Regions from separate parts of the Homo sapiens genome. Here regions 2, 3 and 4 are each linked to region 1. The links are contacts of gene promoters, found by promoter capture Hi-C in human tissues and cell types (Jung and others, 2019). All regions are on one chromosome and are shown on one strand. The core of a region is centred on a gene start or on the middle of the fragment in contact, and the rest is flanking DNA. Distances in the headings are between cores, read along the strand shown. Region 1 holds the start of GATA6 (GATA binding protein 6). Region 2 overlaps RBBP8-AS1 (RBBP8 antisense RNA 1). Region 3 overlaps RBBP8-AS1 (RBBP8 antisense RNA 1). Region 4 overlaps RBBP8-AS1 (RBBP8 antisense RNA 1).

The links. The method cuts DNA at HindIII sites, captures the fragments that hold promoters and counts their contacts. A contact is called where the count stands out against the background at its distance.
Region 2: a fragment that was not itself captured here is called in contact with the fragment with the promoter of GATA6 in region 1 in 2 of the 25 tissues and cell types used here (IMR-90 fibroblasts and aorta).
Region 3: a fragment that was not itself captured here is called in contact with the fragment with the promoter of GATA6 in region 1 in 2 of the 25 tissues and cell types used here (IMR-90 fibroblasts and aorta).
Region 4: a contact is called between a fragment that was not itself captured here and the fragment with the promoter of GATA6 in region 1, in 1 of the 25 tissues and cell types used here (aorta).

What each region holds. Positions count from the first base shown.
Region 1 is chr18:22,167,759-22,171,175 of GRCh38, forward strand. It overlaps GATA6 (GATA binding protein 6), which reads left to right and starts at 1,831. Exons shown (of 7, transcript NM_005257.6): 1 at 1,831-1,924; 2 at 3,350-3,417. The coding sequence starts at 3,387. It overlaps GATA6-AS1 (GATA6 antisense RNA 1 (head to head)), which reads right to left and starts at 1,210. Exons shown (of 2, transcript NR_102763.1): 1 at 909-1,210; 2 at 1-625. RefSeq lists an enhancer at 3,201-3,417. The HindIII fragment of the contact is 12,336 bases long and covers 1-3,417 here.
Region 2 is chr18:22,781,988-22,785,404 of GRCh38, forward strand. All of the region lies in intron 3 of RBBP8-AS1 (RBBP8 antisense RNA 1), which reads right to left. Among named protein-coding and RNA genes, the nearest start is that of RBBP8, 150 kb to the right of the region's middle. RefSeq lists enhancers at 1,663-2,212, 2,213-2,762. The HindIII fragment of the contact is 7,530 bases long and covers 1-3,417 here.
Region 3 is chr18:22,762,526-22,765,942 of GRCh38, forward strand. The region is part of intron 3 of RBBP8-AS1 (RBBP8 antisense RNA 1); the gene reads right to left. Among named protein-coding and RNA genes, the nearest start is that of RBBP8, 170 kb to the right of the region's middle. The HindIII fragment of the contact is 5,775 bases long and covers 1-3,417 here.
Region 4 is chr18:22,726,884-22,730,300 of GRCh38, forward strand. All of the region lies in intron 4 of RBBP8-AS1 (RBBP8 antisense RNA 1), which reads right to left. Among named protein-coding and RNA genes, the nearest start is that of RBBP8, 200 kb to the right of the region's middle. The HindIII fragment of the contact is 3,429 bases long and covers 1-3,409 here.

The DNA.
Region 1 (3,417 bases), core at 581-3,080:
AGAGTTTTCTACCTTCAGCCTTTTCCAAATGCGGCCACGCTGAAACTGGGAGCCGCCGCAGTGATTGGGGGAGGCAAAGTGGAACGTAATAAAAGTGACTAAATTGGATGAGAACGGTTTCTGGACCTTCTCGGTAGCAATTTAAAATTCAGAAGTGTTTAGAAGCAATTTACAACGAAGAATGAAAAACGAAGAATTCTCGCCAACTTCCTGAATTCCTTGCCCCCTCCCCCGCACTGCCAGGCCCTGTCCCGCTCCCCCAGGAGCCACAAGTTCACAACTCACAGTTACGTGCAGAGGAAACAACGCTTAGCTACGAGGTCTCACCATCTCTGGAAACCATACTTTACAAGGCACCTCTCCACCCCAGTTCAACTCTGCACAGGCTCCTCTTCCTTCCCTAACTGGGAAAACACGAAAATAGAAACAAAACAAAAAACCAGAGCCTAAACGCTTTCTAGGAGACCGACCTTCAGAAAATCATTTACTTGGATTTACCTGGGCGGGGGGTAGGGGGTGGGGTCGGGGTAAAGTATAAAAATTCATTCTCACAAAAACAACGCCTCTTGTCCTAAAGTCTCCCTCGGCAGCCTTCTGGGGTCACGTCTGTCGGAAGAAATCCTTTCTGTAAGCGAAAGGGAGCGAGACATATATCACGGCTCCTGCAGCGGACGAGCCTGCGGCCGCGCGAGTTGCCGCTGACAGATCGGCGCTGATAACCCCGCGACGTTCATTTCCAGTCCCTTTTGCCCGCTAGGGACCGTATCAGTTTGTACAGAGTTGTGATAACTGTTTGGAGGGAGCGAAGAGGGGGTGTGTATATGAACGTGGGGGTGGGGAAGCAGCATTTAGCGCTGGGTCCAGGGAAGGTGACACCCCCTCTTCGCAGTGACTTATCTGTGACTTACCTGAAACTCTCCAGGGAAATATCAGAAACTCTCCAGGGACATCAAAAGTTGGAGAGCGTCCTCGGACACGACTGATGTGGAAGCCCTTTTCCATTCTGCGTACCCCATAGACTACCTTTCCGTACATGACGACCCGAGTTAAAGTTCCCAAAGGTCAGCTGGGGAATGTTGTCTTGAGGTTCCCGAAACCACCACGACCTGAGCCGTAGCATCCCGAGATAGGGTCGGAGAAAGTTTAAGGTCGGTCTCACACAACTTCAGGGCAAAAAGCGCATTTGCTGTGAAGGGGCTAGGCGGGGGTTGGGGGGCGGGGGGGCGCAGAGCACGTTCCCCCTTCCTTCTGGGGGCGTGCTGACCCAAGGTCTGGAGCGCCCCTCCCGCCGCGGCGGCGGCGCGGGACTGTGCACTGCCAACTCCTCCCGTGCCAAGGCTCCCTCCCCCTCCCTCGTGTGGGTGTGTGTGTGCGACTGCGGGAGCGGGAGGGTGCACCGCCGCTGGATGGGTGCGGGTCGCTAGCCAGGTCAGGCGTTCTGTGGCCTCCGCCCCTCCCCCGGGGTCCCTGGGCTCGGTGCCCCCCGGGTGGACTCGCCCCCACTCCGGGGACAGGGCTTGCGGCTCAGCCCACGCCCGCAGGCAGCGCGGCTCTCATTGTCTGCCTGGGCGGCGCGCTCCCCTCCCCCCTCGCCGTCCCCTCCCCACCCTCTTTTCTCTCCTCCCCTCGATCCCTCCTCCTCCTCTTCACCTCCAGCGCCCAGCTGCTCGCTGAGCGCAGTTCCGACCCACAGCCTGGCACCCTTCGGCGAGCGCTGTTTGTTTAGGGCTCGGTGAGTCCAATCAGGAGCCCAGGCTGCAGTTTTCCGGCAGAGCAGTAAGAGGCGCCTCCTCTCTCCTTTTTATTCACCAGCAGCGCGGCGCAGACCCCGGACTCGCGCTCGCCCGCTGGCGCCCTCGGCTTCTCTCCGCGCCTGGGAGCACCCTCCGCCGCGGCCGTTCTCCATGCGCAGCGCCCGCCCGAGGTTCGGCTGCTTCCTCCTCGCGCGATCTCCCCGCTTTCCTCCCCTCCACCCCTACTCGTCGCGGGCCCCTGGCCTCCGGCTCTCCGGCCCTCTCCAGGCCGCGGTCGGCTCCGACGGTGTTTCCCTCCTTCCCTCCGGGCGGGCTGAGGCGGCTCCCAGGCTCCCGGGACACCGCGGACCAACTTCTAGTCTCTTTTTCTCTCCTCGAAGCGCTTATCTGCGCGCAGCCTTATCTCCGAGTTATCTCGGCGCAAAGGGGCGGGAGCCGGTAGTTAGGCAGGCAGAGAAACTTCTTTCTTGCTATCTAGCCAGGTCTGTGTGTGGGCATTAATTTTAGTGTGGTAATCTCCGATGAGCCGAGGCGATTTGGAAGAGCAGCCTGGAGGAGGCCAGCCCGGCTGCATTTCACCTCCCTCCCCCACTCGCTCCGAGTCTCCCTGTCATTCTTCCTGCTCTCCCATTTGGGGTCGCCTCGGCTCTGGGGCGGTCTCACGCTCCCCCCTCCCCAGCCCGTTGCGTTCCCCCTCCTTTTCTCTGCTCTCCGCTCCACCCCGCTACGTCCGATTCCGGAACGGTCCGGCGTTTCTGCTGCTGGAGATGACCGCGGGGTGGGCCGGGTGGCCCGGCCGGCGTGAGCGCGCACGCTGGTGGCTGCAGGCGCGGGCCGTGTCTAAGGTGTGCGGCGCCGCGGGGACGCCGGTGGGGCTGGCGATTCCCGCCCCACAAGCTCTCCGCATTGCCTCTGCTGGGAAGGACCCAGACTGCTGCCCCCGCCCTGGCGTCCCACTTTCCCTGGGCCGAGTTGCATTTCTCTCTGGGGCTCGCGTTCGGGCTGGTCAGCGCAGTCCGGGAAGCTCTGGGAGAGCCAATATAGGAGAACGCGGCGGTTTCGTTTTCGGGGACAGGTTGCCTTCCTTACGCGAAGGGTTTTCCCGTGGGGAACCCTCACCCCGAGGCATTTCGGGAGAGGGGCATCCGCAGAGAGGCGGGATGCGGCGGTGCCGACACGCACAGCTACTTAAATTCTTTTGTGTGTCATCAGCCCGGGGGAGACACTTTAGGGCGGAAGGAAAGCCTCAGCCAGCTTCTGCAGATCACCCCTGGGATCTGGCGCGCGCACGGAGAAAGGATGCGGCCGAGGGGGTGGGCGGGGAGGACGCGGGGACCGGAGCGGTGCCTTTGAGGGAGGGCTGGTATCCCAGCCCTTCCAGGGCCCTGTGGCGGCTGCGCAGGCTCCCTTCCCCTCCCTTATTGATCTCCACGCCCGGGGCAGAAATAGGATCTTTGAGAAGTCTCAAATGGGATCTTTGAGAAGTCAGATCCCATTTGAACTAGAAAAAGGAGTGGAGGCGAGGTAGCGTGCAGCCTACGCTCTTGTTAACCCGTCGATCTCCTACCATACCCGTCTCCCCCACCCCACCTCAGGAGCTAGACGTCAGCTTGGAGCGGCGCCGGACCGTGGATGGCCTTGACTGACGGCGGCTGGTGCTTGC
Region 2 (3,417 bases), core at 592-3,091, 610 kb after region 1:
AAGTCTGTCTTGTCAGAAACTAGGATTACAACCCCTGCTTTTTTCTGCTTTCCATTTTCTTGGTGTTTCCATTTTCTTGGTAAATTTTCTTGCATCCCTTATTTTAAGCTTATGTGTGTCTTTGCACATGAGATGGGTCTCTTGAATATAGCACACCAATAGGTCTTGACTCTTTATACAGCTTGCTGTTCTGTGTCTTTTAATTGGGGCATTTAGCCCATTTACATTTAAGGTTAATATTGTTATGTGTAAATTTGATCCTGTCATCATGACGCTAACTAGTTATTTTGCACACTTGTTGATGTAGTCGCTTCATAGTATCATTGGTCTTTGTACTTCCATGTGTTTTTGTAGTGTTAGACTGGTAATGACTTTTGTGGTGTAGGCTGATAATGATTTTTCCTTTTCATCTTTAGTGCTTCCTTCAGAAGCTCTTGCAAGGCAGGCCTAGTGGTGAAGAATTCCCTCAGCATTTGCTTGTCTGAAAAGGATTTTATTTCTCCTTCGCTTATGAAGCTTAGTTTGGTTGGATATGAAATTCTAGGTTGAAAATTCTTTTAAGAATGTTGAATATTGGCCCCCAATCTCTTCTGGCTTGTAGAGTTTCTGCTGAGAGGTCAACTGTTAGTCTGATGGGCTTCCCTTTGTAGGTGACATGGCCTTTCTCTCTGGCTGCCCTTAATGTTTTTTCCTTCATTTTAACCTTGGAAAATCTGATAATTATGTGTCTTGGGATTTATCTTCTCATGGAGTCTCTTACTGGGGTTCTCTGGATTTCCTGAATTTGAATGTTGTTCTGTCTTGCTAGGTTGGGAAAGTTCTCCTGTATGATATCCTGAAGTATGTTTTCCAACCTGGTTCCATTCTCCCCATCTCTTTCAGGTACCCCAATCAGTCATAAGTTCAGTCTTTTTACATTATCCCATAGTTTTCAGAGGTTTTGTTCACTCCTTTTCATCCTTTTTTCTCTAATCTTGTCTGCCTTCCTTATTTCAGCAAGATAGTCTTCAATCTCTGAAATGCTTTCCTCCACTTGATGCATTCGGCTATTGATACTTGTGGTTGCATTGTGAAGTTCTTTTGTGTTGTGCTTTTCAGCTCCATCAGGTCATTTATGTTCCTCTCTAAACTAGTTATTCTGGTTAACATTTCCTGTAATGTTTTATCATGGCTCTTAGCTTCTTTGCATTGGGTTAGAACATCTGCCTTTAGCTCAGCAAAGTTTGTTATTACTCACCTTCAGAAGCCTACTTCTGTCAATTAATTCATCTCAGCCTCCACTCAGTTCTATGCCCCTGTTGGAGAGGTCTTGCGATCATTTGGAGGAGAAGAGGCACTCTGGTTTCTTGAGTTTTCAGCATTTTTTTTGTTGATTCTTTCTCATCTTCATGAGTTCATCTAGCTTCAATCTTTGAGGCTGCTGACCTTTGGATGGGGTTTTTGGAGGGACTTTTTTGTTGATGCGGTTGTTACTGTGTTTTCTGTTTGTTTGTTTTTCTTTTAACAGTCAGGCCCTTCTTCCGTAAGGCTTCTGCAGTTTGCTGGGGGTCCACTCCAGACCCTATTTGCCTGGGTCCCTCCCTACCTGGAGGTATCACCACTGGAGGCTGCAAAACAGCAAAGATGGCTGCCTGCACCTTCCTCTGGGATCTGTGTCCCGGAAGGGGACTGACCTGATGCCAGCAGAAAAGCTCCTGTATAAGGTGCCTCGCAACCCCTGTGGGTGGGCAGGGGGAGGGGAGGTCTCATCCAGTCAAGACGGACAGGATCAGGAACCCCCTTAACAAAGCACTCTGGCTGTCCCTTGGCAGAGGGGATGCACTGCACTGTGGGGAATCCCATTCATCAGGACTGCCCGGATTCCACAGTCAGCACTGGGAAAGACTAAGTTTGCTGATCTGCAGAGACTGCCCCTCCTCCCTGGGGCTCTGTCCCAGGGAGATCAGAGTTCTGTCTGTAAACCCCTGGTTGGAATTGCTGAAATTCCCACAGGAAGGCCCTGCACAGTGAGGAGCGATGGGTCAGGGTCCAGCCTAGAGAGGCAGTCTGGCCACAATCTGCCATAGCTGCTGTGCTGTGCCATGGGGAATTCCTCCTGAGTCCAAATCACCCAGTATCCCCAGCACTGGCAGGGGGAAAACAGCAGACTGGAGCTGCAGTGATGGCTCCTGCCCCTCCCCGCAGGTGCTCAGTCATCTTAGGCAGCAGGAGAATGCAGTGATGGTGGTCAACCCTCCCCCTGGAAACTCAGTAGTCTTAGGCAGTCTCCAGCCAAGTGGCCACCAAGAATCTTCACAGCTCTATGCTTGGGACCCAAGGCCCTGGTGGCACGGACTCACAAGGGGGATATCCTGACCTGTGGGTTGCACAGATCTGTGGAAAAAGTGTGGTTTCCTGGGGCAGGTAGCACAATCACTCACACCTCCCTTGGCTGGGGGTGGGAGCTCCCCTTCCCCTGCACTCCCAGGAGGGCCATTGCTCCACCCTGCTTTTCCTCACTCTCCATGGGTTGCGCCAACTGCCTAATTCAATGAGAGAACCTGGATACCACAGTTGCCAGTGCAGGATTCGTTGGCCATTTTCATTATCTTGGTGGGAGCCTCTGATGGCAACTGCTTCTAGTCAGCCATCTTGGCCCCTCCCCGCTACCACTTTTCTTATGACAACAAACTTGAAAATCTAAAGGAAACAAATGATGTTCTATCAAAATATAAATTCCCCAAATTAACTAAATGACAAGTAGAACACCTAAACAACCCAACAACTACAGAATTTGAAAATATATATATATTTTTTATATATAATATACATATATTAAAGCTCTACAATTAAAAATGGTACCAGATTCAGGATGTTTGTGGATAAGTTGTCCCTAAATTCAAGGAACAACAATAGAAGGCTTCCCAATTCAATTTACAGTTCTATCATAATATTAATGCCAATACCTGACAAACATATTCCAACAAGAAAACTAGAATACTTACAATTAAAATCTGAAACCAGATATTAACAAATTAAATCTAGCAATGTGTTAAAATAGTTATATTCTATAACTAAGCAAAGTTTATTCCAGAAAGCAACATTTCCCAATTTTAAGAAATCTATTAGTATAATGTATTACATTAAAAATTTTTTAAAGAAAAATATGTAATTAAGTAAGTACATGCCAAAAATATATTTAAGGTATTGGAACAGATATTCCTGATCAATTTTCAGTAGTGATTTTTAAGATGTGAATATTTTATCTCTTCATGCAAATTATAAGCCTTTCTCATACCATATATTATTTCTGTCTGTGAGCTACATCTACCTGCTATACCCTCATTCTGCCATAGATCCCAGGAATTTCTATGTAGTGTATCAATCAATATATTTAGAAGTAGTTTAAACATGCCTTTCAGGAGACTAGCCTAAGTA
Region 3 (3,417 bases), core at 253-2,752, 590 kb after region 1:
TATTGGAAGTTCTGGCCAGGGCAATCAGGCAAGAGAAAGAAATAAAGCGTATTCAAATAGGAAGAGAGGAAGTCAAATTGTCTCTGTTTGCAGATGACATGATTGTATATTTAGAAAATCCCATCGTCTCAGCCCAAAATCTCCTTAAGCTGATAAGCAACTTCAGCAAAGTCTCAGGATACATGTGAAAAAAATCACAATCATTCCTGTACACCAAAAATAGACAGAGAGCCAAATCACGAGTGAACTCCCATTCACAATTGCTACAAAGAGAATAAAATACCGTGGAATACGACTTACAAGGGACGTGAAGGACCTCTTCAAGGAGAACAACAAGCCACTGCTCAAGGAATAAGAGAGGACACAAACAAATGGAAAAACATTCCATGCTCATGGTTAAGAAGAATCAATATCAGGAAAATGGCCATACTGCCCAAAATAATTTATGGATTCAATGCTATCTCTAGCAAGCTACCATTGACTTTCTTCACAGATTTAGAAAAACTTCTTTGAATTTCATATGGAACCAAACAAGAGCCCGTATAGCCAAGACAATCCTAAGCAAAAAGAACAAAGCTGGAGGCATCATGCTACCTGACTTCAAACTATACTACAAGGCTACAGTAACCAAAACAGCATGGTACTGGTACCAAAATAGATATATAGGCCAATGGAACAGAACAGAGGCCTCAGAAATAATGCCACACATCTACAACCATTGGATCTTTGACAAAACTGACACAAACAAGCAATGGGGAAAGGATTCCCTATTTAATAAATGGTGTTGGGAAAACTGGCTAGCCATGTGCAGAAAACTGAAACTGGACCCCTTCCTTACATCCTATACAAAATTTAACTCAAATGGATTAAAGACTTAACATAAGACCTAAAACCATAAAAACCCTAGAAGAACACCTAGGCAATACCATTCAGGACATAGGCATGGTCAAAGACTTCATGACTAAGACACCAAAAGCAATGGCAACAAAAGACAAAATTGACAAATGGGATCTAATTAAACTAAAGAGCTTCTGCACAGCAAAAGAAACTATCATCAGAGTGAACAGGCAACCTACAAAATGGGAGAAAATTTTTTCAATCTATCCATCTGACAAAGGGCTAATATCCAGAATCTATAATGAACTTAAACAAATTTACAAGAAAAAAACAACCCCATCAAAAAGTGGGCAAAGGATATGAACAGACGCTTCTCAAAAGAACACATTTATGCAGCCAAGAAACATGAAAAAAAAATTATCATCACTGGTCATTAGAGAAATGCAAATCAAAACCACAATAAGATACGATCTCACACCAGTTAGAATGGCAATCATTAAAAAGTCAGGAAACAATAGATGCTGGAAAGACTGTGGAGAAATAGAAACGCTTTTACACTGTTGGTGGGAATGTAAATTAGTTCAACCATTGTGGAAGACAGTGTGGCGTTTCCTCAAGGATCTAGAACCAGAAATACCATTTCACCCAGCAATCCCATTACTGGGTATATACCCAAAGGATTATGAATCATTATACTATAAAGACACATGCACACTTATGTTTATCGCAACACTATTCACAATAGCAAAGACTTGGAACCAACCCAAATGCCCATCAATGATAGACTGGATAAAGAAAATGTGGCACATAAACACCATGGAATACTATGCAGCCATAAAAAAGGATGAGTTCATGTCCTTGCAGACAACATGGATGAAGCTGGAAACCATCATTCTCAGCAAACACAGGAACAGAAAACCAAACACAACATGTTCTCACTCATAAGTGGGAGTTGAACAATGAGAACACATGGACACAGGGAGGGGAACATCACACACCGGGGCCTGTCAAGGGGTGGGGGCATATGGGAGGGATAGTATTAGGAGAAATACCTAATGTAGATGACATTGGTTGATGGGTGCAGCAAACCACCATGGCACATGTATACCTATGTAACAAACCTGAATGTTCTGCATACGTATCCCAAAACCTAAAGTATAATAAAAAAGAAAAAAATGCCCAAATACCCATCAATGATAGACTGGACAAGGAAAACGTGGCACATATACACCATGGAATACTACATAGCCACAAAAAAAGATGAGTTCATGTCCTTTGCAGGGACATGGATGAAGCTGGAAACCATCATTCTCAGCAAACTAACACAGGAACTGAAAACCAAACACCACATGTTCTCACTCATAAGTGGGAATTGAACAATGTGAACACATGGACACAGGATTGGAACATCACACACCAGGGCCTGTCAGGGGGTTGGGGGCAAGGGGAGGGAGAGCATTAGGACAAATACCTAATGCATGTGGGGCTTAAAACCTAGATGACAGGTTGACAGGTGCAGCAAACCACCATGGCACATGTATACACCTATGTAGCAAACCTTTATGTTCTGCACATGTATCCCAGAACTTAAAGTTAAATAAATAAAAAAGAGCCTGGGGGATCTCCTCAGGATCCAAGAAAGGACACCTCTCTGTCTGAAATGCAGAATGACAGTGATAGAAAAAACTACAGAAATGGTCTTCACTGACAAGCCCAATAGAGAATTCTTATCTTCAACAATTCTGACAGGTAGAATCCAGCTTCATTTTTACTACATCTGGGAATTGGGAGCTCCTTGCCACTTAGTGCAGACCATTTCCATATTTGAATAGTTAAATGTTCTGGAAAGCCTTTTGAAACTTGAGCCAAAGCCAGGTGCTGAGCTATAATCCTAGCTTTCCAGGCGTCAGAGGTTTCCATCTTGGGGGTGCAGAGGAACATATGATAAAATTAGGATGACCACCCATTCTGGTTTGTCATGGACTGTTCTGGTTTTAGCATGAAAGTCCTGTGTCTCAGGAAGCCCTATAATAAATAGGTCACAGGGCTAGAAATCACAGGGTTTCTAGTCACAGGACCTGAGTTACAGTCCCAGCTCTACCATTTAATCTGTTGTGTAGCTTTAGGCAAATCAATTAGTCAATCTAAGCCTCAGTTTATTCATCTATATGAGGATAATAATACCCATCTTACAGAGTTGATGTAAGGATTAAATAAGTAATATATAAGAAGATTTCAGCAGAGAGCCTTGTACACAGTGGAGACTTTTAAATGCTAGCAGATACATCTATAATGAGTATACTTTAACATATAGTGACCACAATTTCCCTTCCTTACAATTTCCAGTCATAAAGTTTCTCCCATCCTTTGAAATACTGCAGAACATATCTGATTCCTCTTCCAAATGAACACTCTTCAAATAGCTGAGGGCTGTGGCATGCTCCATACCACCCACTTTCCACTCCAAATCTATACCAGACTGGTCTCCTCTTTTCCAGACTAAATATCTCTAGTACTTTGACCATCGTTCAGATGACATGATTTCCAGAATTTTGTCCCTCTTATTAACCTTTTTGTAGA
Region 4 (3,417 bases), core at 445-2,944, 560 kb after region 1:
AGTAGATCACTGGCCAGAGTTTTTGAGTTATGAGAGCCACTGCAGAGATTTCTTTTAGAAAAAGAATCACCACTGGCAACACATTTCAGTGACATAGAATGAGTCCCAAAACTTGCTTACTTTTGGGACATATTCAACCTGTTCAATAAAATCAACATGTCACTTCAGGGGAGAATGACAACTGTATTCAAGTTGGCAGATAAATTCGCTTCATTCAAAGCCAAACTGGAATTATAGGGGCAACAAGTGAACATTGGGAACTGGGGTCTCTGACATGTTTCAAACATTAGCAAAGATATTGAAAGAGACAGAGCCAGGGCTGTCTTTCTCCCAGCTGGTGGATGATCACCTATCTCAGCTTTCAAGAGTTTGAGCATTACTTCCCAACACAAAAGACTCCCAAACTGGGAAGGAATGGATCTGTGACTCATTTGTGAATATGCCAGGTGAATAGATTTTGTCCATGCTAGAAGAGGATCAACTGCTTGAGATTGCATATGATGGTAGCCTTAAAAGTATGTTTGAGAAAACTTCAAATCTCCATAGTTCTGGATTAAAGTCAAGGTGAAATATCCTGTGATTGCCACAAAAGCACTGAAAAGCCTACTTCCGTTCCCAGCATCCTATCTTAGTGAAGCAGAATTTTCTGCAGTGACAGCAACCAAAACGAGATTACGGAGCAGACTGGACATAAGCAACACACTTCCATGTCACTGTCCTCCATCACCCCCAGATGGGACCATCCAGTTGCAGGAATACAAGCTCAGAGCTCCCACTGATTCTACATTATGGTGAGTTGCATAATTATGTCATTATATATTACAATAAAAATAAAGTGCATGATAAATGTAATGTGGTTGAATCATCCCAAAGTCATCCTCCCTACTCCACCCCAGTCTGTGGAAAAATTGTCTTCTGTGAAACCGGTCCCTGGTGACAAAAAATTTGGGGACTGCTGATTGAGAGAGATCTTAATTGAGTTAAAAAAGAGATCACAGGGACACAGGAAGGGGAACATCACACTCTGGGGACTGTTGTGGGGTGGGGGGAGGGGGGAGGGATAGCATTGGGAGATATACCTAATGCTAGATGACGAGTTAGTGGGTGCAGCGCACCAGCGTGGCACATGTATACATATGTAACTAACCTGCACAATGTGCACATGTACCCTAAAACTTAAAGTATAATAATAAAAGAAAAAAAAAGTTTTGCATAGATGGACAGCCTCTGAGGTATCTTTCAGCTTTGATAACTGGTGATTCCTTACTGTATAGGCCAACTGGGCCCAAAGTCCACTTGGGATTTCAACACCTTCTTTTTTCATAGTATGACCAGGACTTTCCCAGTTTATGCTGTAAGTCCTATGATCTGGAACTGAGTCCCAGGCAAACAAGGAATCACCATACTTCTTACCACTATGCTGTGTGTCTCCTTGACCCTTGTCCAGACCAGCACAGTGCTCTTAACTGCACCTTCCCACCTACACAAAAGCCTGAGTACACACTACAAAAAGTCTTTGTCCCCTGCACTCTGGATCTTGTGCAAACCCAAAGGAGGCTTTGCCTTCTACTCTCATTCCAACCTGCATACTCGGGTACCTTGGCAAGTACCTAGGTTTGTTTCTCTAATTAGCCCTCTTGAAGCAATGCTTCAGGTGAACCATCTGCTTGGCTTCACCACCAAACATGATCTTCAAGTCTCCCAGCCCAACATTTCTCCTGCCAGGCCTTGGGTCATTGAGCAGAGGTATTATTGGGATACCTTATGCCCCTGCTGCTGCCTAGTCCTGTAGCCACTGCATAGCATGATCCAAGATCAAAGCTATTTTGTGGATTTCTAAATGCCATACTACTATATCAGTTCTGTATCTATTGCCAGAATTCTTTTAAAAACTGGTCATTTGTAGACATAAGCTTTTCAAGGGCTCAAATATCCCATTTTCATAAACCTATTTGTTTTCTTGTCTGCTTAGTGTTGCCTTTGACTATATTGAATATCCTCCTCCTGTGCTATGTTAAAATGCCTTTACTTGTTACTTGTTAACAATAAATTACTCATTAACAAGGAATTCATTCTTATCATTGACAAATATTTCAGCATAAATGGACTTCTTTCTATAGCCAAGAGAGTATGAAGTATGTTAGATTGGAAAGCTCCATATTTATCGTCTGTTGGATTAAAGCTTGTTGATTTATTTTAAACTATTCTAAGGTGGTTGTTTGTGTTTCATACTTATATCTCAGGAGATACTGATGAAACTATATAGAATGAATCAACAATTAGTACATAGCCCAAAACCATGTGCCCAAAATACCTAAGTTATGGACATTCCTAAAACAGACCTTAATATGCTGAGTTTTTCTAATTAATTTATATTTTTCCACATACAAAAAGGATAGGAAAGTCTTCCAGAAAAAAGGACAATGTCCTTGGGTTACTTTGTAGCATCTAACACTGCTAAACTGGTGTAGAGGAGTGAAGAGGTTGAAAGGAAGACTATAAGATGTCCCACTTAAGAAACTGTTAAAAAGTGCTGTGAAAGTCTGATCCCTCCATTCATCCACCTGACAGAAGCACTGGAACAAACTTCTGCCTGTCACAGAAACTTCTATTTGTCTACCCAGTATTTATTTTTTTTCCTTCTTCCTTACTAACAGAATGTCAATTTTCTTCTAGGCATTCATTTATTCTCCCTTGCAGCTAAGGGTAACCAATGAGGTGTAAGTAGAAGTGTTTGAAAGGGCCTTACTCACCCAGGAGGGACAATCCTGGGACCTTCTGCCCTCCTTCCTTCCTCCTTCTTTCTGCCTAGAATATGTCAGGTTGTTACATTTAAAAAATAAAAACACAGGGTGCCTACTTAAATTTAAATTTCAGACAAACAACAAATAATTGGTTTTAGTATAAGTACATTCTATGCAGTTTGGAACATACTAACACTAAAAAATCATTTGTTGTTTACCTAAAATTCAAGTGTAACTGGGTATCCTGTATTTTATCTATTTTATCATGTCCCCAAGAATGTGGACATGGAGACTGAAGCTCCAGCAGCCACCATGGGACATAAAGAGAACTTACAGCTGAAAGCCACACACCAAGGATGACAGAAAGAAAATATGGGCATCCAGTCACAGAAGACCAGAGAGGGACACGCTAACCCCAGGCCATGTTCCTTGGAACTTTTTCTACATGAGATAAATAAAGCTTTACCTTGTTTGAGGCATGATTATTTGGAATTTGTTGCATGTCAAACTCAGTCCTGAGTGGTAAACTATCATTTCCACATTGCTTTTCCTCTCCACTCTCTTCCGTGTTTCTTTTTTCTCTCCCCAATAACCCATGGTGAGAATTTTAGGTGATTTTATTCATTTATAAGAGTGAATGGAAAGAGTAAATCCCACACAATAATTTGTCCCC